2 separate regions of the Homo sapiens genome follow, and region 1 is linked to region 2. Evidence: promoter capture Hi-C in human tissues and cell types (Jung and others, 2019). All regions are on one chromosome and are shown on one strand. The core of a region is centred on a gene start or on the middle of the fragment in contact, and the rest is flanking DNA. Distances in the headings are between cores, read along the strand shown.

Region 1 (4,505 bases), core at 1,282-3,781, 410 kb after region 2:
ATATACACACGAGAAAACCACACATTATCACTCTCCTTTTAGCCAGCTGATAATAGTTTCTTCCCACCCTTACCCCTCAAAAAACCCAGAAAATATTGTAAGAAATATTATAATATCCCACCATTCATTTTTTCCGTGTGACTCTTAATGTTGTGGCCTATGAAAGGAAGCTACAGATGATCTAACTGACCTCTAAGATCCAATCTATTCTAACATTCTGCACATCTGTAACTCTATGAGTAGATGAATTGTGAGTACATATATCTAATATTATAGAAACTCACCTAGGATCAACGCAGAAGGGTAAAAATGCTAAATACCTATTCTGAAACAGTAGCCTCACAGAAGAATACTACATAAAGTTATCATCCAATTTCCAGAAGCGTAACCTAGTTTCAGACTAAAACGCAAAATTAAAAGTATCCCTGCTGTAATGAAACACTTCTTTTCATTTTGTACCAATGCACTCCAGTATCATTCTTGCTTATATTTCAACAGTTTTTGAGTCGAGTTGGTAGGCTTAGGAAGAGATGACTTATATTTATGCCAGATTCAGCACAGTTCCTTTCCAATGGTACTTAAATGTCCTTATTCCAGAGGGAAATAAAATGACATACTACAATGGAAGCATTTTGAGCTGCAGAATTTAGAACTGTGTCCTCCAAATCATTTGGTTAGTAAGGTATCTGTTGGAAAAGCCCAAAAGAACTTCAACAGCAAAAATTGACCAAGTCTTCATTGTTTTTGCCTCAATATATTTCACACACAACTTTCTGGGAAGGTAGCCAAGGTAGGAGTTGCCCTAGCTAAAAATACATTTCCTTTAAATGTGAAAGTGGAAGTGATTGTAGCAATTGTTATTTGTGAGGCTCCAAAGAGATACTGATTGCTGCATAGTAGATTTGTCTCATGGAATTTAAAGAGTTTTCTGACATGATCTTATTAAGCCATGTTAATTATTTTGTTCATAAACTAAGTAAGTATTTAGAACTACAATCTGTTCTACTTTAAAGCTGTTTCATTGATACTGCTTCCCTTGTGCAAATAGGAGATAATAGGAGAATAATGTCTACATAACACAGCAGTTGTGTCTTAGTTCATGTATAATTTTTTTTCCAGCAGGTTAATGTTTTAAAGTGGTCAGAGTAGGCTTTCTTACAACTAAAGAAAGAGCCTTAGCAATCTGTGAATTAACTCTGGAAATCTACAGAACTGCAGGTGGAGACTAGGTTAGTGGCTTCAAGAATTGCTACCCTTTCTACTATGCCAAGCTTCTTGGGTAAACTGTTACTGCAGATAACAAAGCTGCAATGACATTTCCCTTCTATTAAAAAAAAAAGGTACACTCTGGATAAGATTTCTAATATTTGTTAAATAATCTACTAGAAGAGAGTGTCCTCTAGGATCTCTCCTTCAAAGGGAAATCACCAGAACCAGGAGTTAAAATTGCGAAGATTAACTGATTGGACATAAATACAAAGAGAGATTTAACAATGCTGGTATTTCTATTAGGAGGGTTAATTATTCTCATTAGTGTCTTGGTTGCAAAATTCCATAGCTTATGAGGAATTTGTCCCAATTCTATTCTTTCCATAAGCTCTCTTATTTTTAGTGTCCAATTTTACAGAGGTGAACATGCATTGTAGGAGAAATACCTGAATTATTTTATAAACAGGAGAAAATCCAAATTTTCTAAATGTAAGAGATTAAAGCCAAGTCACAATCCAATGAGGAGGCAGAGTAAAACATTAGGATTTATGGTTCTTAATTCTTGCATGACTGTTTTAGGAAGTACTTGTTTGTATCTACCACTGAAGATATGTGGTGGTATAATATATACATATATCAAAACAATCACACTATAATCATACATATCTACAATTATTTGTCAATTAAAAGTAAAATAAAATAAATTTTTAAGAACAAAGAAAACAATTGAAATCTTTCAACAGACTTTATTTTCCTTTTATTTTTACACATTTACTTATTTCCAAAAGGATTGAAATGCCACTAAGGAGGGACTTAATACTTTATGACTTTTTCAGAGCCTCCTTGAGACATGTTAAAGTTGCACAGTTGAAAAATACCACACAGCTTTACTGTTGTGCTTGGCAACTTTTCAGAAGATAAATGCTAGCATTCCAGAGGCTTCCTAGTGAATGATGAAGGGTGGAGACACACATTCAGCACCTGATGGCAAGCTGGGCTAATGGTGAGAGGTACCTTTGTGGTGGATGAAGATGTGGAGGGTGGGTGCAGAAGACTGCAGGACAGAGTGAGACAGGATCAGGGAACAGGTGCCTGTGATACCAAAAATCAGCTCTAGGGGTATTTTGCCATGTGTGTATGGGTTGCTGAATATCTTTGCATATGACATTTTTCTGCATTAATTAATTATTCATTTGACTCAAGAAATGTGCTTTGCATATCTATGTTGTTCCGGGTACTGTGCTTAGCATGAAGGAGAGAGATGAAAAACACTCAGCCTCTGGTTTCAAACAAACCAACAGCCAATTGCAATCCAGTATAATAATGAGTGTCTGGTGTTATGGAAGCAGAAGGACACCTCTAACTCAGGCTGTGGTCAGAAAATTTAAAATGTGAGGATAATGCTTGAGTTTAGAACACCGGAAAACTTGGTAACCTGCCAAGTAAATAAAATGGGAGAGGGGACTTTCAGGCAGAGAGAATGGAATGTACAAAGGTGAGAGACAAAAAATATCGGAGTTTTGGGAAATGCAAGTGAGTGTGGTGGCAGCATAACCTCTGTGTGTGTGTGTGTGTGTGTGTGCACGCATCTGTGTGCACATGTGCACAAGCATATATGTACACAATATGTGGAGTGATGGGGAAGGAATCAATTGAAGGTTGAAAATGAAATCAAAGAAGCAGGTAAAATCTAACTCATAAAAGGTTGTGCCTATCAACAGTTTGAACTTGGTAGGGTTTAACAATTAGTTTACTCAACCCAAGTTGCCTCCTTTACCTGTTCTCCACCATAGCACTTTCAAACCTTTGCTGGGCAATCAGCTCTGTGAGGGTAGTAGCCATGACTCTTAGTCACGGTTATATCTCTGGTGACAAAGCATAGTAGCTGACGCATGGGAGATGTCCAGTAACTACAGGTAGAATGAGTCTCTCTTCTCAAGCTTTTAGCTCTATGCCAACTCCTTCCTCCCAGAAGGTGACTTTAACTTTTTTTTTTTGAGACCGAGTCTCACTCTATCACCTAGGCTGGAGTGCCATGGCACGATCTCGGCTGACCGCAACCTCTGCCTCCCAGGCTCAAGCGATTCTCCTGCCTCAGCCTCCCCAGTAGCTGGGCTTTCTGGCGCCTGCCACCACACCCAGATAATTTTTGTATTTTTAGTAGAGACAGGTTTTCGCCATGTTGGCCAGGCTGATCTCGAACTCATGACCTCAAGTGATCCTCCCGCCTCGGCCTCCCAAAGTGCTGGGATTACAGGCTTGAGCCACTGCACCTGGCGATTATAAGTTCCTAACTCAGGAAATAATCATAATCAGACATTGTGTTACTTTCCTAGAGCTTCTATAACAAAATGTGACAAACTAAGTGGCTTAAACAACATACTTATTGTCTCACAATTCTGGAGCCTAGGAGTCCAAGATCCAGTGTCAGGAGAGTTGATTCGTTCTTGAGGCAGTGAGGAAGAATCTGTTCAATGCTTCTTCCCTACCTTTTAGTGGTTTTGGGGTAATCTTTGGTATTCTTTGGCATCTAGACGCATCACTCCAATCTCTGCCTTCATGTTCACGTGGCATTCTCCGTGTGTGTGTGTGTGTGTGTGCACCTGTTTCCAAACTTCCCTTTGAGTAAGGACACGAGGCACTTTGGATTAGGACCCACTATATTATTCTCATTGTAACTTCATCACCTCTGTAAAGATCCTATCTCTGAGTGAGGTCACCTTTTGTAGTAATCTAGGTTAGGACTTCAACATACGATTCTTGTGGGGAGTGTACAATTCAATCCACAACAGGTACAAACTTCAAAACTACCTTCCATCAACTTTCATAATTTATTCTGCAAATAGAGTTTACTGTCCCCATTTTAAAGAGGAGAAAATTGGGGCTTACCCTCTTTCTATGATTTGATCAAGTTTCCACAGCTAGTAAGTGGCAGAGTTTTAACATTGTCTTTAAATAGCCAGATTGAATGCAACCAAAACAAACATTGCAGGAAAGAATTACTTGTTTTATATGTAGGTAGCATGCAATATAAGAGTTGTTCATTCATTATTTTACTTATCTGATAAATAAACATATTGAATATTTATGATGTACCAGGCACTGTGGTATGTTCTGAGGGGACAAGAAATTAGTAAAACGTAAAGGTTGACCTTAAAGCAATTTGCCATTTTCATGTCCAAATTGTAATGTCAGAACATATAAACATTGATCGAACATAAGGGGATGTTTTCCCAGATTTATCAAACTAAACTCAAACTACTTTACTTCAATTTCTTAGATACTCTATAAAACAA
Region 2 (4,925 bases), core at 279-2,778:
CTAGCCAAAGAAAAATAAATTGTTTTACCAAAAAGACACCCGCATTCATATGTTTATTGCAGCACAGTAGCAAAGGCATGGAATGAGCCCTGATGCCCATCAATGATAGACTGGATAAAGAAAATGTGGCACATATACACCAACATGCAGCCATAAAAAAGAACAAAATCATGTCCTTTGCAGCAATATGGATGCAGCTGAAGGTCATTATCCTAAGTGAATTAACACAGAAACAGAAAACCAAATACCATATGTTCTCACTTCCAAGTGGCAGCTAAACACTGGATACACATGAACACAAAGATGGGAACAATAGACACTGGGGACTCCAAAAGGGGGAAGGCAAGAGTTGAATAACTACCTATCAAGCGCTATATTTACTATTTGGGTTACAGGATCATTAGAAGCCACAACCTCAGCATCGTGCAATATACTTATGTAACAAACCTGCACATGTACCCCCGAATCTAAAATAAAAAGTGAGATGAAATTTTTTTTAAAAGAAAACCTTTTTGCATTGTATCTGTTTGGGAACCTTTGGCCTCCTGTGCCTGGGTGTCTAAATCTCTTGCTAGACTTGGGAAGTTTTCATATAGTATTTTGTTGAACCATTTTTCCAACTCTATTGTTTTCTCTTTGCCTTCTGAGACTCCAAAATTTTGAATATTTGGTCACTTTATGGTGTCCTACATGTCATGTGGGTTTTGCTCATTTTTTAAAACATCTTTTTTATTTTTGTCTATATGAGTTATTTCAAAAGGAAATAGTCCACTTCAAATGGACTACTGCACCATTTGCTCCGTTTTAAAATATTACTATGCCTTAGGAAGCAATCTAGCCAGGAGGGTTATTTGACCTCACACAGGTATTGCTTTCCCACCTGTAATGCCATTCATCCAGAACTCCCCCTAACCCAGCAAGACTCTATTCAGTCATCAATCACTTCTTTTAGAAAACGTACCCACTACCCATATCACTCTAGAGTTGGTTTCGATGCCCTTGTGTTATTCTTAGCATTCGTCATACTGTATGGCAATTCTGTTTCCTCTATGGGGCTGCGAATGTTTCCAGGAACAAGAATAGGCTTCATCTTTTTCTTCCTCATACAGGGAAGTGACTGACATACAGTAAGGCATCCCACAAATTGTTCAATGAATCAACAGGAGGTGCAATGGCCAGAGGAACAATTTATACGTATGTAAGGCTATGTAAAGGCACGTAAAGCCAAACCGCTGTGAAAACCGCCTTCAGAAGTCAGTCGGCTACTAGGCAAATATACAGAAGCACACAGGACAAATCCATTCATTCTCCAGCTCCTACACGCCCGGGAAGCAGTTTTACTTTACAGCAAGTTCAAGAGTCGCACCGCAGATGCTGTAAAAACGAAAGAAGCCCACAGTTGGGACGAGGATTCCAGTTTTGCGTCACCGTCAAGGCGGGAAAGTTCCCGGCTGTCGGTTGGAGGGTGGGTCCTCGCCCCGCCCCGCCCCCTCGGGCCGCCCTTCCGCGCTTCCGGGAGGCTTGTCCCAAGCTCACGGACCCCTCGCTGGGTGCCGGTTAAGACCCCGCTCCCCGTCGCCAGTGCTATGGAGGCGGCGGCGGCGGTGGTGGCGGCAGAGGCGGAAGTGGAAAACGAAGACGGCGACAGCAGCTGCGGGGATGTATGCTTCATGGACAAAGGCTTGCAGAGGTAAAGGGCGCTCCGCAGCCAGGAGCGACCCGCGCACTCCCCAGAGCCGGGGCCACGAGTGGCTGGCGGCGACACCAGAGTGGAGGCGCGGCACTGCTTTACCAAGACCATAAGTGAACGCAGTCTGGCTTTCGGCCTCCCCGCTCCTCCAAAACTTACCTGCCGAAGTGCCAGGTTGAATGAGCCGTGGATGCCTTCCCGCCCGTGTCTCCTGCCCAGCGTTTCACACGACTCTGCTTAGCCTAGAAACTGCCCCAGGACCTTGTCCTCCACCAGCTTCTGACCACTCTTTCCTTCTGCTGGTTTTCCTTACTTACTGGTGGTTATTCCTTTGCTTGCCGTTTAATTGCTGGTTTTCTCGTGTTCTCTCGTCTTTCCTGTTCTTACCTCTGAAAAAAACCTGCAGGATAGTATCTCTGGCAGCTATGAGCGGGCAGTCGCTGCTGCCTGTTAGTTTTGCCTCAGTTCTCCTTGTCTGCATTCGAAATCATTTGTCCGTTACAGAACATTGCAATACATATATTCATATACTTTTTGAAAGTACTAAACTTACTATATTTAGTTCATCGTTTCCCTCTCTCTTGAAGCCCTGACTTGTGCAAAGCATATGAGGCACTTGGTTCTGTAATACTGTAAAGCAGGTCTCCACCTGCATTTCAGGCTCTTTAGTCTCGACCCGTAACATTTCTCCACTTACACTTTATTTACCTGTACTGAGCTACAGGCAATTCCATAGCAGACTTCTCTGTGCCTTTGCACATGCTGTTCCTTTGTAGCGTGTCCTCTACGCGAACTCTGCTACTGATAATTAAGCATCTTGTTCTGGATTCTGATTTAAACTTTGCCAGATGATCCCAAGAAGATGCTGTTCAAGGGACATTTTACATTTCTATTTAATACTAGCTGCCATTTACTGAATGCTATCTGTTGTGTGCATGTTATATACATTATCAGTAATCCTCACAGCAATTCTACAAGGTAGTAATTTTTCTCATTTACAAGTGATGAATGAGACTCAGAATCTATTGACAATTTGTTCATCTTTATACACTTCATGAAGAATTAAGTTCGGATTCAAACCCATTTTCCGTCTAATTTCACTATGCTTTTTCTATCTCACATTATCTGCACATTATTAATGTCGAGAAACTGAAATGTGTCAGAAAGTAAATGACTGTCATTAAGAGCATGTGTTAACAGCATAAGGTCTGGCACTAAATAAGAACTCAAGTAAATGACACAGCAGGATAAGTGGGAAATGCCCCAGATAGTCACATTTAAAGGTTGCTAGTTTGAAATTTGCAAATGCTTCCCTGCTGTCAGAGTTAGGTTTCCTACAGCTGTAAGATAGCTGCTACTCAACCTACAGCAGATGCCCGTGACATTGTGTGTTCCTGGGTGTATCTCCCATCTAGCAACTCCAAACTGTGTATGCTGTAGTTTGTGTTCCTGGAACTACTATCTTCAGGAGAAGCTTCAGTTATAAATAGTAATTGGAGTGAAGAGATGAGTTCTGTTTAGGGGAGATCCATTAACTTTCAACAAGGGAGGACAGGGACTTTTTCAATAGGAATTGCAATAACATGGTTTGTTTTTGAAAATGCAATAGACTGTGGATTAAATAGCTATTGCACACAAAGAAGAAAATAAAGTTATAATCTCCAGCATGAGATCTGGATTTACATATGCTCTGTTAGCTGCAAGAATTTGGGCAAGCTATTTAATTTCCATAAATTTAGGTATCCTTAAGATACCCACTGCTTAGAGTTATTGTGAGAATTAATTGAGGTAAGAAAACTGAGGCTCAGGTTGTCATTTGCTCAAATCACACAGCAAAACCGTGATAGAATGCAGATTCAAACTGGGATATTAACATTCCAAAGCCTTTACAGTTATTGACTACTATTCAGCACTGCCTTCAATATATGCTGATGACTGCACACAGGAGTTAGAAATGCCCACTGTCACTTGCCTGCCTTGAGCGGTTTCTTGTTTGTATAAATAATCCAAAATACTTGGTTGTGTTGTAAGAAGCACCGTGTTTTGTGAGACATTTCAAAGGTACCACAAATAGGAAAGATTTCATTCTAGAATGAATAGAGCACATATTTAGTATCTACGTGCTGTTTGGTTAATTTTAGTTATTTGGTCATGCTTTTAAAATCTATTTTTATAGTATATATTTTCTTTTATAGCATATCAGAATTATCTTTAGATTCAACTCTTCATGCCGTCAATCTTCATTGCAATAACATCTCCAAGATCGAAGCCATTGATCATATTTGGAATTTACAACATCTAGATCTGTCATCTAATCAAATAAGTAGAATTGAAGGACTAAACACACTGACAAAACTGTGCACATTAAATTTGTCCTGCAATTTGATTACAAAAGTAGAAGGTTTGTAAGTGATTTTCATTTAACACTTAGCGTAAGGAAAATGATTTAGGTCCATTTTTTTCCCCAAAAGAATGGAATAAATATCAGAAACTCTTAAAAATTGAGTCTGAAACTCATTATACAAAATATTTTCTCCAAAAAAGTGTCAATTTTTTAAAAATTCTGTTTTTTCTAAATGCCAATAAAATTGATTTCGCTGTTACCAGACTGGATTTACTTCAGAACAGTCTGAAATAACATTGTAATGCTATATCTCTGTAATTAATTATTTAAATTTTATAAAGGCTTTATTTTATTTTACTTTTTTTTTTTAGGACTTGAAGAACTAATTAATCTGACTAGACTAAATGTATCTTATAACCACATAGATGATCTTAGTGGTAAGTAGAAATGCTTATGTTTTCTGTATGCTAAATGTTGTGCCACATGTGATAAGTTAACAGCTCAGCTAAACATGTTGGAAATCTCTGAATATTAATCTAATTTTTAGCCAAAGAGCTCATCTAGAGAGCGTATTCCAGTCATGATTCTATTTTGTTGGTACCAAAACCACAGCTGAGTACAAAATAGAAGTTAAAACCAAGGTAATCAGTAGCAGGAAAAACTTAATTGGAAAGGATCCAGTTGAAGGGAATATGTTTTAATTTTAGCCAATTAATCAATGTACTGTTATATAGAGAAGAATAGTTCCAATAGAACTTTCCACAGTGGTAAAAATGTTCTAATCTGTGCTGTTCAATATGGCAGCCAGTAGCCAAATGTGGTTATTGAGCACTTGAAATGTAGCTAGTGCAACTTAAGGACTGAGTTTGTAATTTTATTTAATTTTAATTT

What was found. Contacts are between HindIII fragments. The study calls those that stand out against the background at their distance.
Region 1: a contact is called between a fragment that was not itself captured here and the fragment with the promoter of LRRCC1 in region 2, in 1 of the 25 tissues and cell types used here (thymus).

The regions. Positions count from the first base shown.
Region 1 is chr8:85,512,866-85,517,370 of GRCh38, forward strand. All of the region lies in intron 3 of LOC105375937 (a long non-coding RNA gene), which reads left to right. Among named protein-coding and RNA genes, the nearest start is that of CA3-AS1, 50 kb to the left of the region's middle. The HindIII fragment of the contact is 6,335 bases long and covers 1-4,505 here.
Region 2 is chr8:85,105,710-85,110,634 of GRCh38, forward strand. It overlaps LRRCC1 (leucine rich repeat and coiled-coil centrosomal protein 1), which reads left to right and starts at 1,529. Exons shown (of 19, transcript NM_033402.5): 1 at 1,529-1,690; 2 at 3,886-4,091; 3 at 4,406-4,471. The coding sequence starts at 1,587. LOC105375933 (a long non-coding RNA gene) reads right to left here and starts at 2,153. Exons shown (of 3, transcript XR_929117.3): 1 at 1,850-2,153. RefSeq lists an enhancer at 1,641-1,700. The HindIII fragment of the contact is 9,097 bases long and covers 1-4,925 here.